Regions from separate parts of the Homo sapiens genome. Here region 2 is linked to region 1. The links are contacts of gene promoters, found by promoter capture Hi-C in human tissues and cell types (Jung and others, 2019). All regions are on one chromosome and are shown on one strand. Each heading gives the region's core, a stretch centred on a gene start or on the middle of the fragment in contact. The rest is flanking DNA. Distances are from core to core; before and after follow the strand shown. Region 1 holds the start of DCDC1 (doublecortin domain containing 1). Region 2 overlaps IMMP1L (inner mitochondrial membrane peptidase subunit 1).

What was found. The method cuts DNA at HindIII sites, captures the fragments that hold promoters and counts their contacts. A contact is called where the count stands out against the background at its distance.
Region 2: a contact is called between a fragment that was not itself captured here and the fragment with the promoter of DCDC1 in region 1, in 1 of the 25 tissues and cell types used here (IMR-90 fibroblasts).

The regions. Positions count from the first base shown.
Region 1 is chr11:31,364,378-31,370,988 of GRCh38, forward strand. It overlaps DCDC1 (doublecortin domain containing 1), which reads right to left and starts at 5,362. Exons shown (of 39, transcript NM_001387274.1): 1 at 5,320-5,362. It overlaps DNAJC24 (DnaJ heat shock protein family (Hsp40) member C24), which reads left to right and starts at 5,483. Exons shown (of 5, transcript NM_181706.5): 1 at 5,483-5,535; 2 at 6,339-6,482. The coding sequence starts at 6,372. RefSeq lists an enhancer at 5,296-5,775. The HindIII fragment of the contact is 7,317 bases long and covers 4,931-6,611 here.
Region 2 is chr11:31,496,969-31,503,579 of GRCh38, forward strand. All of the region lies in intron 1 of IMMP1L (inner mitochondrial membrane peptidase subunit 1), which reads right to left. Among named protein-coding and RNA genes, the nearest start is that of IMMP1L, 9.3 kb to the right of the region's middle. The HindIII fragment of the contact is 5,372 bases long and covers 1-5,162 here.

The sequences.
Region 1 (6,611 bases), core at 4,112-6,611:
GGGGGAAAAAACAAGTTGGTATTTGTATGACTATTAAAGATAAATAGAAGATGGATTACAGACAATATTTTTAATAGGCTCATGGAATGATTAAAACATTAGATGTGAAGATAGGAAAACAGGAACATAAATCTCAGATAAGATAAAGACCTATAAGAGGTCTGAAAAAAGTTAGAAAGAACTGACACATAATGCTAAAAAACAAGAAAAACACAGCAACAAGTGCGGTGCCCGCAAAAAATATTTACCTCTTCCTCTTTCTCTCCTGCTTAGTGTACTGCCTTGCACAAACTCAACGAAAGTTCATCGATGATGACTATTGTCAAAATGGCAAAGCAGATAATAGACTGAGTTAAGACAACCAACAAAGGGAAAAATGAAAACCATTTCTAAAAGATGAGCTAGGATTATTCATTAGAGCTGATTCTCAATACTATCTAAAGCTTTATGTTAATCTGTCAAAAAAAAAAAAAAGAAGAAAGGAAGTTTCTTTCATCCTAGTCATTCACCTCTCCCTTCCTTCAAAACACTATTTAAAACTTAACATTTCATACATCTTCCTGGATTAGCTTCATCTTGATTCAAGGATTTTAATCATTCAAGTAATCTATTCTACGTATTAGTATACCTGCAAGTTATTAATTAATGTCACAGCACCTGGTATTTCCTCTGGCATAGTACTTCCTACAGTTATTTCAGTTCCTTTTTAAATGTCTGTTTACCCAGATAAACTAAGCTTTTGACAGGACTACAGTCAACTTTGTTTTGTGTCTCTTGTAACTAACGGAGTGTGGGGTACATAAGAGACACTCAACAAATATTTGTCGATTGAGTCAATAGGTGAATGAAGGCTGTATATATATCATTGACTTTTAAAAATCAAATAACTAGCTAGTTTTTGGTGGTTTTTCTATCTTCCCAGTAGATTATAAGTTGCTCTAGAGACAATCATTCAATTTTGGAACATAACCATCATATCCCATGGTACTTAAATACAGCTTAGTTCACTGGTATAAAAATCCTAAAATTCAGAAATAAAAATCAAGGAAATGAAGGAATAGTTGGTGATGGAACTACCAAAAGAGCCAAGTAAATATAATCCTGAATAGGAAATAATTAGCAGAAGTACACTATATGTATACATCTATATAATATAGATATAGATTTCCATTATTATCCATCAATGAGAAGCACAATTGACTAGTATGACATCAAATTAAGAATTTGTGAATGTCTGGTAGACGTTAGTTTACGGGCAGGCGTGTACCAAAGTGATAGATTTAATAACAATGTCATTTTTTCCTATCATCATGACAAAGGATCTTAAACTCCTGATGTATCTAGCTACATCTATAGCACTTGATCAATCATCTGGGAATCAAATATTTAATATACGCCTACCTTGGTTATGTTAGATGCTGATGACGCAAACTAAAGTTTTGCCTATCCTTTTAATTTATTCTGAAGTCCAACCAAATGTACAGTTCAACAAATATTTGGGTTTGATTTTATTTTTCCAATTCAATTGTTTCTTGCTGTCATTTGCTCTCTTTGGAAATTCCTAAAATACTGTTATGAATGTCCAACATTCTAATATATCAAATGTGCAACAAATATTATTAATTAATAATAACAACAATAGCTAACCTTTACTGAATACTTATTACTTTCAGGCACAACTATCTCATTTAATTCCCACAACAAATCTATGAGGGAAATACTATTATTACTCCCATATTACAGAGGAAGAAACCAAAGCAAAGAGATGAATTAAGTTCACATAGCCGTAAGAGGAAAAGCCTGGACTAAACACATATGTTCTGACTCTAGAGTTCATGCTTTTAACCATGATACTAACATAGTTTATATTTCCACTATGTAAGTTTCACATAAAATGGATAAATTGCCTTTTAAATATAAGATACTGAGAAACAAAACTATTAGAGCTATGTATCATTAGAACTCCAGAGAATGAGGCAAGATAGCTGGTTCTTAGTTTCTCTGGAGAGGTGTTCTTGCTCTCAGAAAGCTTGCAACCCAACTGGGGAATCAGAATATATTCTAAGGAAAACAATATACTGTGATATACAAAGGACTTGCTATGAAAGTTGAGGGGCGGCAGTAAGTTCTAAGGACCAGGCCATCATAAAAGGCTTGATGGAAGAGATAGGCCTTAAAGCAGGGATTACTCTGATAGGAGGAAGAAAAGAATTAGGGTGTTATAAGTAAGGAGAAGCATTTGAACACAATTATTGATGAAATGCTGTTACCAAAACACCAGGAGTTCCATCTATGTCTTGCTGCTTACCACCCAAAAAGTCAATCACTGAGACAATGATTATTGTCAAAGAAGAAGGCTTTAATCAGATGCTGCAGCCAAGGAGATGGGACATCAGTGTCAAATTCACCTTCCTCACTGACTAAAATTAGGGGTTTATATAACAGGGAAGAAATGTTAACTACGTATGAGAAAACAGGAACTAAGGAAGGGTAAGGAAACAATAACGAAGAATGAGGGGTCTGGCATATCACTGTCTAGATGCAGTAATCTGGTGAGTTTCAGCTCTTTGATACTTGTTGAGAGGTCTGGGCATCCTTTCTTGAGGAAGGAACTGAGATAAAGATCAACAAAATGTGGCTGGGCGCAGTGGCGCATGCCTGTAATCTCAGCACTTTGGGAGGCTGAGGCAGGCAGATTGCTTGAGCTCAAGAGTTCCAGACCAGCCTGGCCAACATGGTGAAACTCCATCTCTACAAAAAAAAATACAAACATTAGCCAGGCATAGTGGCATGCACCTGTGGTCCCAACTACTTGGGAATCTGAGGTGGGCAGATGACTTGAGCCTGGGAGGTAGAGGCTGCAGTGAGCTGAGATCATGCCACTGCACTCCAGACTGGACACCAGGGCAAGACTCTGTCTCAAACAAGCAAACAAAAAGATAAAACAAATGCAAGTTTCAAGCTTTCAGAAAAGAAGTGTCCATTTCTATGTTTATTAATTTAAAAAACCCCAATAAACAAAACTAAACAAACAAACAAAACCCTGTCTATGGGACTGTTGGGTTGATTTCAGTACCATGAAAAGATCCAATTGTTTAAATGTTTAATGTATGGAGATAATAGGGGAGGTTGGAAAAGTAAGGATCATATTGAAGAGGTAACTTGAATGCTAGGTTAAGGAGTTAGGACTTTATTCTCTAGACCTGCCCTGCTGGATACAGTAGCCACTAGTCACATGTGGCTACTGAGCATTTGAAATGTGCTAGTTCAAATTGAGGTGTGTTCGGGCACAATACATACCAGCTTTTGAAGACTTAGTAGGAGAAAAGAATGTAAAGTATCGCCTTAATAATTTTTAGATTAATTAATTTTGTAGCTTGCACTTACGGCTTACATTATATTTCTATTGGAAAGTACTGCTCTATAAAATGAAAAATGAAGGAAGCTTAATGATCAGAAATTTATGTAAAAATTGTTTTAAGAAGTTTATTTTGGTATAAGCAGAGTGTAAGACAACTGTTCTCATTCAGTAAGCCAATGGCAAGTAAAGAAAAAAACAAGGTTCTAGTGAAGAAATGGGACTGCTATAATTTAAAAGATATTTAAGAGACAGAACAGCTAAATGGAAAGTGTACATTTTGTCTGATTCTGAGTCAAGCAAACCAACCAGAAAAAGACATTTTCAATTAACCGTGGAAATGTAAGTAAGGTCTAGATATTATGTGACAGTCCAATAATGACATTATGGAGATAAAAGAAAAAGTTGGTACATTTTAGGGATGCAAACTAAAGTATGTAGAGATGAAATGACAAAATATTTGGTATTGCTGGGGAAAAAAACTATTTCTTACTTTCCAAACCCCAATAAATAAATAAGGTAACACAATAACCTAATAAATAGTAAATCAAAATAAAATGCTTTTGCTGTAAAAAACAAAAAACCTGGAGTACCGGAGCATATCTACCTACACAAGGAAGAACCAAGCTGTGGACAGAAGGGAGTTTGAGGGCTAGAGATGTTCAAGGTGGCATCATTCTGACAGTACTGTTTAGAAAAGCATTCACCACACTACTTAATTCCATTGCTTTAGGTATTTTCATGAGGCCACACAAGAAAGTATGATGCAGCCAGGACTAAAACCAGATGCTCTTTGTATCTGCCTTTAAACATGACAAAACCCTGTGGAGAACCTAATCTATGCTTTCATCTTTAGATTTTTAAACTTGCTTGTTTCATTCAGTTATTCTTTATAGTTCATAACATCATTAAATAACTGATCATATTAGATTATTTTATTTATTCTGCTTAAGTTTATCTTGACTGCTTCTCAAACTCAGATTGGTAGAAGTTTAAAAAAGAAGGAAAGCAAAATCAAAGCAGTAACAACAAAACCATTTTAACATCTCCAAGTGAAATTTATGTCATGCTGGCCAAAAATAAGATGTAGTTTTCATCTCCAGGTACAATGCTAGGAAGAGGTGTTAATGTAAAGTAAGCAGCACAAAGAAGTAATAAAAGGAAACACAGGAATCAAGAAAGGGAGAAGAAAGAAAGGTGAGAAAAACACCACCACCACCACCACCACCACCACCAGCAACAATAACAAACCCCAACAGTGCCCATATGCAGTGCCCCCTAACTGCTTCGAAGAAGAACAGTTCATTCTGCTTTTTTCTGTAAGCTTGAAAGATAGCATAGCTGCCCTGGGAATGTGTAGACTTGCTGAGTCCTTGTTCTGCCCCTACCCAACTAGCTGTTTGGCCTTGATCCTTGATTTCTTTCCTCATCTATAAAGTGGGAATAATGGCACCTGCCTTACTTGTCTCACTGGGTTGAAATGAAAGCGAAGTGAAATAGCAAATGTGAAAGAATTTTGGAACGTTTTTATGTTGTAAGTTGGTTGCTAAGGTCTAAAAGAAATATTAATAATTACGTCGAATATCTTCTGCAGAAAAAATTAAACCGACCCCATCCCCCGCACATCTAGCCCTACCTGGCATAGGTTTTAGTTCTTTTAATTTTCGAATTAGAACATTGTAAAGGAACTGTAGGGACGAGAGTGGCATCAGGTCTCCTCATCCTTCTCACATCCTTGCCCCCGCACCCCTCTCTCACCCCAGAGTTCAAGCACCAACCGAAAAGATTGAGAGTAGCTCAGGGTACGGTAAACGGAGGAAGCTTTGAAAAAGGCGGGGAAAGCCTGGGATGGCGAGGGGGTGCTCGCTGAGGAGGAGGAGAGAAGCGACAGTCGCGGGGCCCGGAAAAGAGAGACTTAGAGCGAAGCCAAAGGCGCCTTTCTTCACAGTTTGGGAACTTACTGGTAGTAAACGCCACTCCATAGAAGCGGTGACCGGTTACCATAGAGACCGCGTCGGGGTGGGCGGAGCGTCGCTTCTGAGCTGTGCCACGGCCACATCAGCTCGGCCAGAAACGCGAACACGTCGGAACAGTGACTTCCGGCGGAAGAAGAAGCCGGTCCGGAGTTCTGGCCGACAGCAGGCGAGGAGTGGGTAGCAGCGCCTATGTGAAGTTAGGTAGGTCTGATGTCGTATAAAGCGCGGAGAGGGTGCCCGCCAATGGCTGGGTGGGTAAAGCCGACTGTGAATGGAGAAGATTCCCAAGTCCCGAGCTTGAGGAGGCCCCGGCTGTTTCGTTAAGTGTATATAGCTGTGGGAAGAGGTTGCCTGATTTCTGGGGCTCCTGGTAGGGTCTCTCTTCTGGAGCGTGGAAGACTGGGGCATCCTCGCGTAGAGAGTTTCACTCTGTCTTTGCGAGGTCTCAGCGCCTCTCCAATAACAGGGGACTCTTGTTCTCTACCAGCTGGTGCTGACGTTATTTCCCATATCATGCTCTCCAGACAATCTGGAGGAAAAGCAAACGAGAAACTTTCAGAAGGAATGCCCCCAAATTTATTTTAATTCTTTGATGTTCTGTTTTGCTTTTTTTTTATTCGTTCATTTTGTAAATATTCATTAAGCTCCTCCAGCGTGTTTAGTGGGTGCTTACTTGTGTGCCAGTTTTATCATAAGACTAGCAGAAATACCTTCTTAGAGGTTCATACACCACCTGGTTCATTATAAAATTCTTTTTTTTAATGCTGTTCATTAATTAAAGTATAAATATATATCGTGAAATACCTAACACGTTTTCCATACTTGTCGGTACACTTATACCTGGAATTCTTGGGGCATTTTAAATGAAAATCTGTGCTTCCTCAGGTTTGCATTATAATCATGATTTACTCGACTAAATACTAAAGAATTTACAAGGGCAGTACTTAATTTTTTCTTAGATACATGGCAAACTGTGATGAATTGTCATTAATATTTCTATTCAGCTAATCTGAGAAGGCCCACTTCTGGTTCCATGGATGATGGCGGTTGAGCAGATGCCAAAAAAGGATTGGTACAGCATCCTGGGAGCAGACCCATCTGCAAATATATCAGACCTAAAACAAAAATATCAAAAACTCATATTAATGGTAAGTCTTTTCTTTCAGATTTTAAATCATGAGGGGAAAAAAATCAATTTTTATATGAAACCACAAATTTAGGTTTCCAGAAAATAGGATACCAGTGGCAGGAATCCAGGTATTAATTTGATTTAATTG
Region 2 (6,611 bases), core at 1,227-3,726, 130 kb after region 1:
CTATTATATATGATAATCTTATATCATATACTATAATCTTATATAAGATTGCACATGTTACATATATGTATTACATATTATATATATATACACACACAGATGGTCCCTGACTTAGCAATGGTTTCACTTATGATTTTCAACCTTATAATGGGTTTATCAGGGTATTAAATACATTTTCAACTTATGGTATTTTCAACTTAAATTGGGTTTATCAGGACATAACTCCATCATAAGTCAAAGAGCATCTGCAATAGATTATTCAGCCATAAAAAAATGAAGTTTTAATATATGATACAAAATACATGAACTTTGAAAAACATTATGCTAAGTGAAAAATATTATGCAAATATTAACAAGAATATAGTATGATTCCACTTATATGAGGTGCTTATAATAAGTTGGCAAATTCACTGAGAGTAGAATACAGGTTATTAGTGGTTGAAACAAGAGAGAATAACAAGTTACTGCTTCTTGGGTACAATATTTCTTTTCTTTTTTTTTTTTTTTTTTTGAGATGGGAGTCTCGCTCTGTCGCCAGACTGGAGTGCAGTGGTGCGATCTCCGCTCACCGCAACCTCCGCCTCCTGGGTTCAAGCAATTCTCCTGCCTCAGCCTCCCAAGTAGCTGGGACTAGAGGCACGCGCTACCACGCCCAGCTAATTTTTCTATTTTTAGTAGAGACGGGGTTTCAGCATGTTAGCCAGTATGGTCTCGATCTCTTGACCTCGTGATCCGCCTGCCAAAGTGTTGGGATTACAGGCGTGAGCCACTGCACCCGGCGGGGTACAATATTTCTTCTTGAATGATGAAAAAGTTTTAGAAATAGTGGCAATGATTACACAACATTGTAAGTACTCTTAATGTGACTTCACTTATACTTAAAAATGATGAAAGTAGTGAATTTTATGTTACGTATATTTTTATCACACATACACAAATTTTTTTAAAGGGCTCAAAACCTTGAGCCAGTTCAGAGGGCAGACACAAATACTTCAGTTAGAAAATCAAAACTGGGCTACTGATAAGTAGTAAAGTGAACATATTCCAATGCTCAGTGAGAGAAAAACGATCGTCATGTATGATGATAATCTATTAATTTTCATGTGAGTTGATTTAGGAAATGTTAATAGAAAAAACATAATTTGCTTTATATTCTTAAAAAATCCAACCTTAGAATACCAAATGGACTATAAAATTATTTTCAAATCTTTAATTTTGACTAATGGAAAAATTGTAATACCAAATGACCTTTAATGTTATTCTTTGAACCTTTCACTTTGGGAAATAAAAAATATAATAAGCAGAACTATAAAATTAAAATTCTAAAGGTTTTAAGAAGGAAATATTTTTAAATTACAAAGGATTCTGTTTCACCACTGGACAACACTGTTATAAAGTTCTTTAATCTGGGTTGAAACTGAAATTTCTATGCCCTGGAGAAACAAAGAGGTCTAATTTTTTTTTGACAGGATTAAAACAAGTCTTATGAAACTCAAAATCTTTCACCTCCCAGCTACCTATATTCCAGTTACTACCTCAATTGCTTTCCCATCACTTTTTCTCACCATATTAATCACTCTGAATATATACCTATTTTAGCAGAGCAAATATGCTTCATGTTTTATGCTAATATCCATAAACTGGCTACATAAAAAGCTACCCTGAGGAGGAAACTAAGCCTGTATTTGGACTGAAGTGGAAAATAGTGGATAAGAGTATGAATTCTGTAGTCAGACAGGCTAGCTCTATTGTGAATCCTAGATCTTCCACTTACGAGCTTTCTGACCTAGATAGAACAAGTTACTTATCCTTTATGTGACTCCATTAACTTCTGAACACACTCATCTATAAAATGTGTGAGGATTAAATAATATATAAAGCATTCACAACATTACAGGGACTACAATAGGCATTCAACAAAAACATTACTTAATATAATTAATCACCAATACATCCATGGAGAGAGGAGTGGAGATACTGAAGAAGATACTAAAGAAGATACTTTACATTTCAGTTTTACCATGTGTCTTTTGATTCAAATATCATGCCTAAATGGGATTCTGGTTCAAAACTGCAGATAAATTTACTGCTACTCTCTTCAAAAACTACACGGAGGGCCGGGCGAGGTGGCTTACACTGTAATCCCAGCACTTTGGAAGGCCAAGGTGCACGGATCACGAGGTCAGGAGATCAAGACCATCCTGGCTAAAATGGTGAAACCCGGTCTCTACTAAAAATACAAAAAAATTAGCTGGGCGTGGTGGCGGGCACCTGTAGTCCCAGCTACTCAAGAGGCTGAGGCAGGAAAATGGCGTGAACCCGGGACGCGGAGCTTGCAGTGAGCTGAGATCACGTCATTGCACTCCAGCCTGGGCGACAGAGTGAGACTCCGTATCAAAAAACAAAACAAAACAAAACAAAACAAAAAACACTACACTGAAACGACAGTACGTTTTAAAAAATAAATAGAAATAAATGCTGAGAAAAGGAGTGAAAGGCACACTAGAGATTTTGAAGAATTTCTGGAAGACCAGGCATATAAAATCATAGTGATAGGTTTGGATGGAGCGAATGACAGTCCAGATATGGTTAGCAAATTATAGTTCACAGGGTAAATCTCCCAGCCCATCACATGCTTTTGCATTTTTTAAAGGGCTGAAAGACTAAAGCAGCAGCATATTTTTTATAACATGTGAAAACTACATGAAATTCAAATTTCAGTGTCCACAAAGTGTTATTAAAACACAGCCATACTCATTTGTTAATGTTATTTCTGGCTACTTTCCCATGGAAGAGTTAAGAGGTCATATTACCCGCAAAACCTAAAATATTTACCATCTGGTCCCAGAAAATGTATGCCCACCCCTAGCCAAGCACAAACATGAGAATGCTTCAGGAAGATGAGACGCTTCTTCCTGTGACTCCAAAGGGGTTCTGAGCTAAAATCAGCAGTTCTGGAGGCTAACTTCTTAAATAAATAAATAAATAAATAAATAAATAAATAAATAAATAAAGTGTAATCTGCCTGAGAAGAATTTGGTCTCCAAGTATGGAGGTTGGAGAGCTAGGTTAGGGGCCTCCTCATCTGGCTATTAGAGAACGACTGGTCTGTGTACTTGCTCCTTGATTATGCACATTAAAGCAAAGTACACCAATAAATTAAGTCCTACCAACCCACAAGAAAATTGGTCAGTCTTTTTTTTTCCATTTAGGCTAAAGATTTGATGGGAAAACAAAGAAAGAGAAAACCCACTCCAGTTACTATATTATTCCACTGGTCCTTCACTTATCAACATGAATAAAGAGCCAACATTTAAGGAAAACACGAGCATGAGAAAGAAGGTCCATAATGAAAATAATTAGTCTGAATAAGCAACCCTGGAGAAATCAGAGGTAATTCAGGGAGGAAAAAAAATTCTATGTCTCTGTAAAACAAGAGATATAGAATTAAAAGAACAGAGTTTAAACATAAAATATATGCCTGTCTGCCACCACCTTCTCCCATTCAGAAAAAATAGAAAAGGTGGAGAAAAAGTTGAAGAGGAACAATCCAAAGGAGTTAATCTTCCTAAACTTTCAGGAAAAGACACTCCTCTCTCCCCTCCAAAAATCTGTTCCACATATGCACACACACACACACACAAACACACACACACACACTCCCCAAAGAGAGGGTGTTGAAAGGACTCGGAACACAGGGCAAATGAAATAAAAATACATAAAGCTGTAGACACTTTTTTTTTTCAACCTAGAGCAGAGGTTGCCAAACTAGGGCCCATGAGTCAAATTCAGCAGACTCTGTTTTAGCCAATAAAGTTTTACTGGGACAAAGTCATGCTCATTCATATACATGTTATCTGTGACTGCTTTTGTGCTCTCACAGCGAGTTGAAAAGTTGTAACAGAGACCATATGGACTACAAGGCCTAAAATATTTACTATTTGGTCTTTTATAGAAAAAGGTTGCCAAAGCTTGATCTAAAGCTGTGTGATTTAATATAGTACAAACTAGCCACATGCAGCTGTTTAAATAAATAACTTAAAATAACTAAAATTAAATAAGATTAAAATTCAGTTCCTCTGTCATATCAGTCACATTTTAAGTACTCTATAACCATACGTGTTTAATGACTATTGTACTGGACAGTGCAGATACAGAACATTTCCATCAACATAGGAGGTTCTACTGGACAGGGTTCATCTGGGTATTACAATAGATTATTGTAACTGCATTTTAATTACTGCTTTAACAATTGCTACACTGAAAAAACATACCTAAGTGCTACAGTCTGAATGTGTCCCCCAAAAAGCATGTGTTGAAAATTTAATTCCCAGTGCAATAGTGTTGAGAGGTGAGGCTAAATGGGAGGTGTTTAGGTCTGAGGGCTCCACCCTCATGAATGGATTAATGAAAATTATAAATGAGATTGAGGCTGAGAGTTGACTCTTGTTCTCTCTTGCTCTCTCTTGGGCCACTCCACTATGTGATAACACAGCAAGGACACCCTCGCTGGATACCAGCCCCTCAATCTTGGACTTCCCAGTTTCCTGAATTGTGAGCCAATATATTTCTGTTCATTATACATTACCCAGTCTCAGGTATTCTGTTACAGCAACACAGAATAGAATAAGACACTCAGAAGCAGGAAGAAGAAATACATTTAGAAAAAGACAGAAATTAGGGGTTTTAGAAATGAAAATAATGGCCGAGCATGGTGGCTCATGCCTGTAATCCCAGCACTTTGGGAGGCCGAGGCAGGTGGATCACTTGAGGCCAGGAGTTTGAGCCCAGCCTGGCCAAAACAGTGAAACCCCATCTCTACAAATAAATAAATAAATAAATAAATAAATAAATAAATAAATAGCTGGGCATGGTAACACATGCTTGTAACCCCAGCTACTTGGAAGGCTGAAGCATGAGAATTACTTGAACCTGGGAGGTGGAGGTTACAGTGAGCCAAGATCATGCCACTGCACTCCAGCCTGGGCAACAGAGTAAGACTGTCTCAAAAAAAAAAGAAAAAGAAAAAGAAATGAAAATAATTAATGCATACATCAAAGACCTTGTTGTATGAAAATATCACCGAAATAGATATTTTTAAAGTCCTTCAAAGTCAGAGAGAAAAAATCCGAACTGAGAGAAAATTCAAAGATATAGTACTACAAATGAGAAACTAAATTTGAACATAGATGTGGAAGAGATTATAATTCAAGGTTGAGAATGTAATGAATGCTATCACATTTGAAAGTAATAATAAAGTTTCCTACGAAAACAGAATTCAAAAAGAGGTAGAATAATTATATAGAACAAGAGCCATTAGTAATTTTTTAAATTATGTAATAAATGGATCCAATTTGGTTCTGAGTTAATGAAAATAATGTTTGCTAGGATATCCAACTTTCATTTTATCCTGCAAGAAATTCATCAAAACATACTTCATATCCAGACTCTTAAACTAAGAAACAGTAGTCAAAATAATAAATTTCACTCTAACACTACCCATTGGTCCAGGATTTATTTATTTCTTTAGAGAGGAGCTTCAGGAGCCTGTGGGACCCTTCGGGCAAAATCAGTAGATGTGATTTTTTCATATGAAATAGTTTTAAATATTTGGCCTACTCCCAGGCTTCCATAATTATTCAAACCGAAGGGAAATTGATCACATCTCAGCAGAAATGTCCACGATAATTAGAACATCACACATGCTTTAACACAGTAGCTTTATGTCTATGAGACTCTGGTTGACACGTGAAAGGAACACCAGTCAGCCGTTATTTAATTCCTCATGTTGGCTACATGCAAATATGGAGAAAAGTCCCAGACTGAATGACATACAAATGTTGGGCCAGTCTCTGAAATTTCTTTTCTTTTTTTGCTAAAAATTTTAATGTTTTTGTGTTGACCATTAAAAACACTTTGTTTGCCTTTATTTTTTCTTGTAGACAGATTTACTTGACAAATCTCCTTGAACTAAAACCCTTGGACACATTTACCCTATTACACTGCACATTCTAACACATGACTATACAATGGCTTTTTAAGTTTTAATTTAAATACCCCAGTTTTCCATTTATACTTTAAAATCCACTAAAATTATAATGAATATAAGTACTCATTTGCCCTGGTCAGTCCCAGCTTACTCCTGCTTTCCTAGCATCCAATATAATTCAGTATTTCAGTACTTTCAAAAGTGTCCTAAATAATCTACAGATCAAAGAGAAAATCAAAACAAAAAGTAGTAAATATTTTGAAATAAATGATGAAAACATAAAATGCCATAAGTTATAGGAGCAGCTAGTGCACGCTCTTAACTACATACGGTATATTAGAAAAGGCAGAAAATCAATAATTAAGCTTTTAGTATAAGAAGGCGGAACAAACAAAGCCTTAGCAAATCAAAATGAAGGAATGTAGAAGGAAATAAATGATAAATAAATAGTAATCGATTAAACAGAAAGTAGAAAGTAAAGACTGAGAAAAACCAATAAAGCCAAATTTGAGTATTTTTAAAGATTACGTGAAAAATCCCTAGCAAAATTAACAATGAAGAAAAAAAGGAAAAGAAACTCATTCTCAATTGCTGATATTTATTTATCAGCAATAAATAAAAG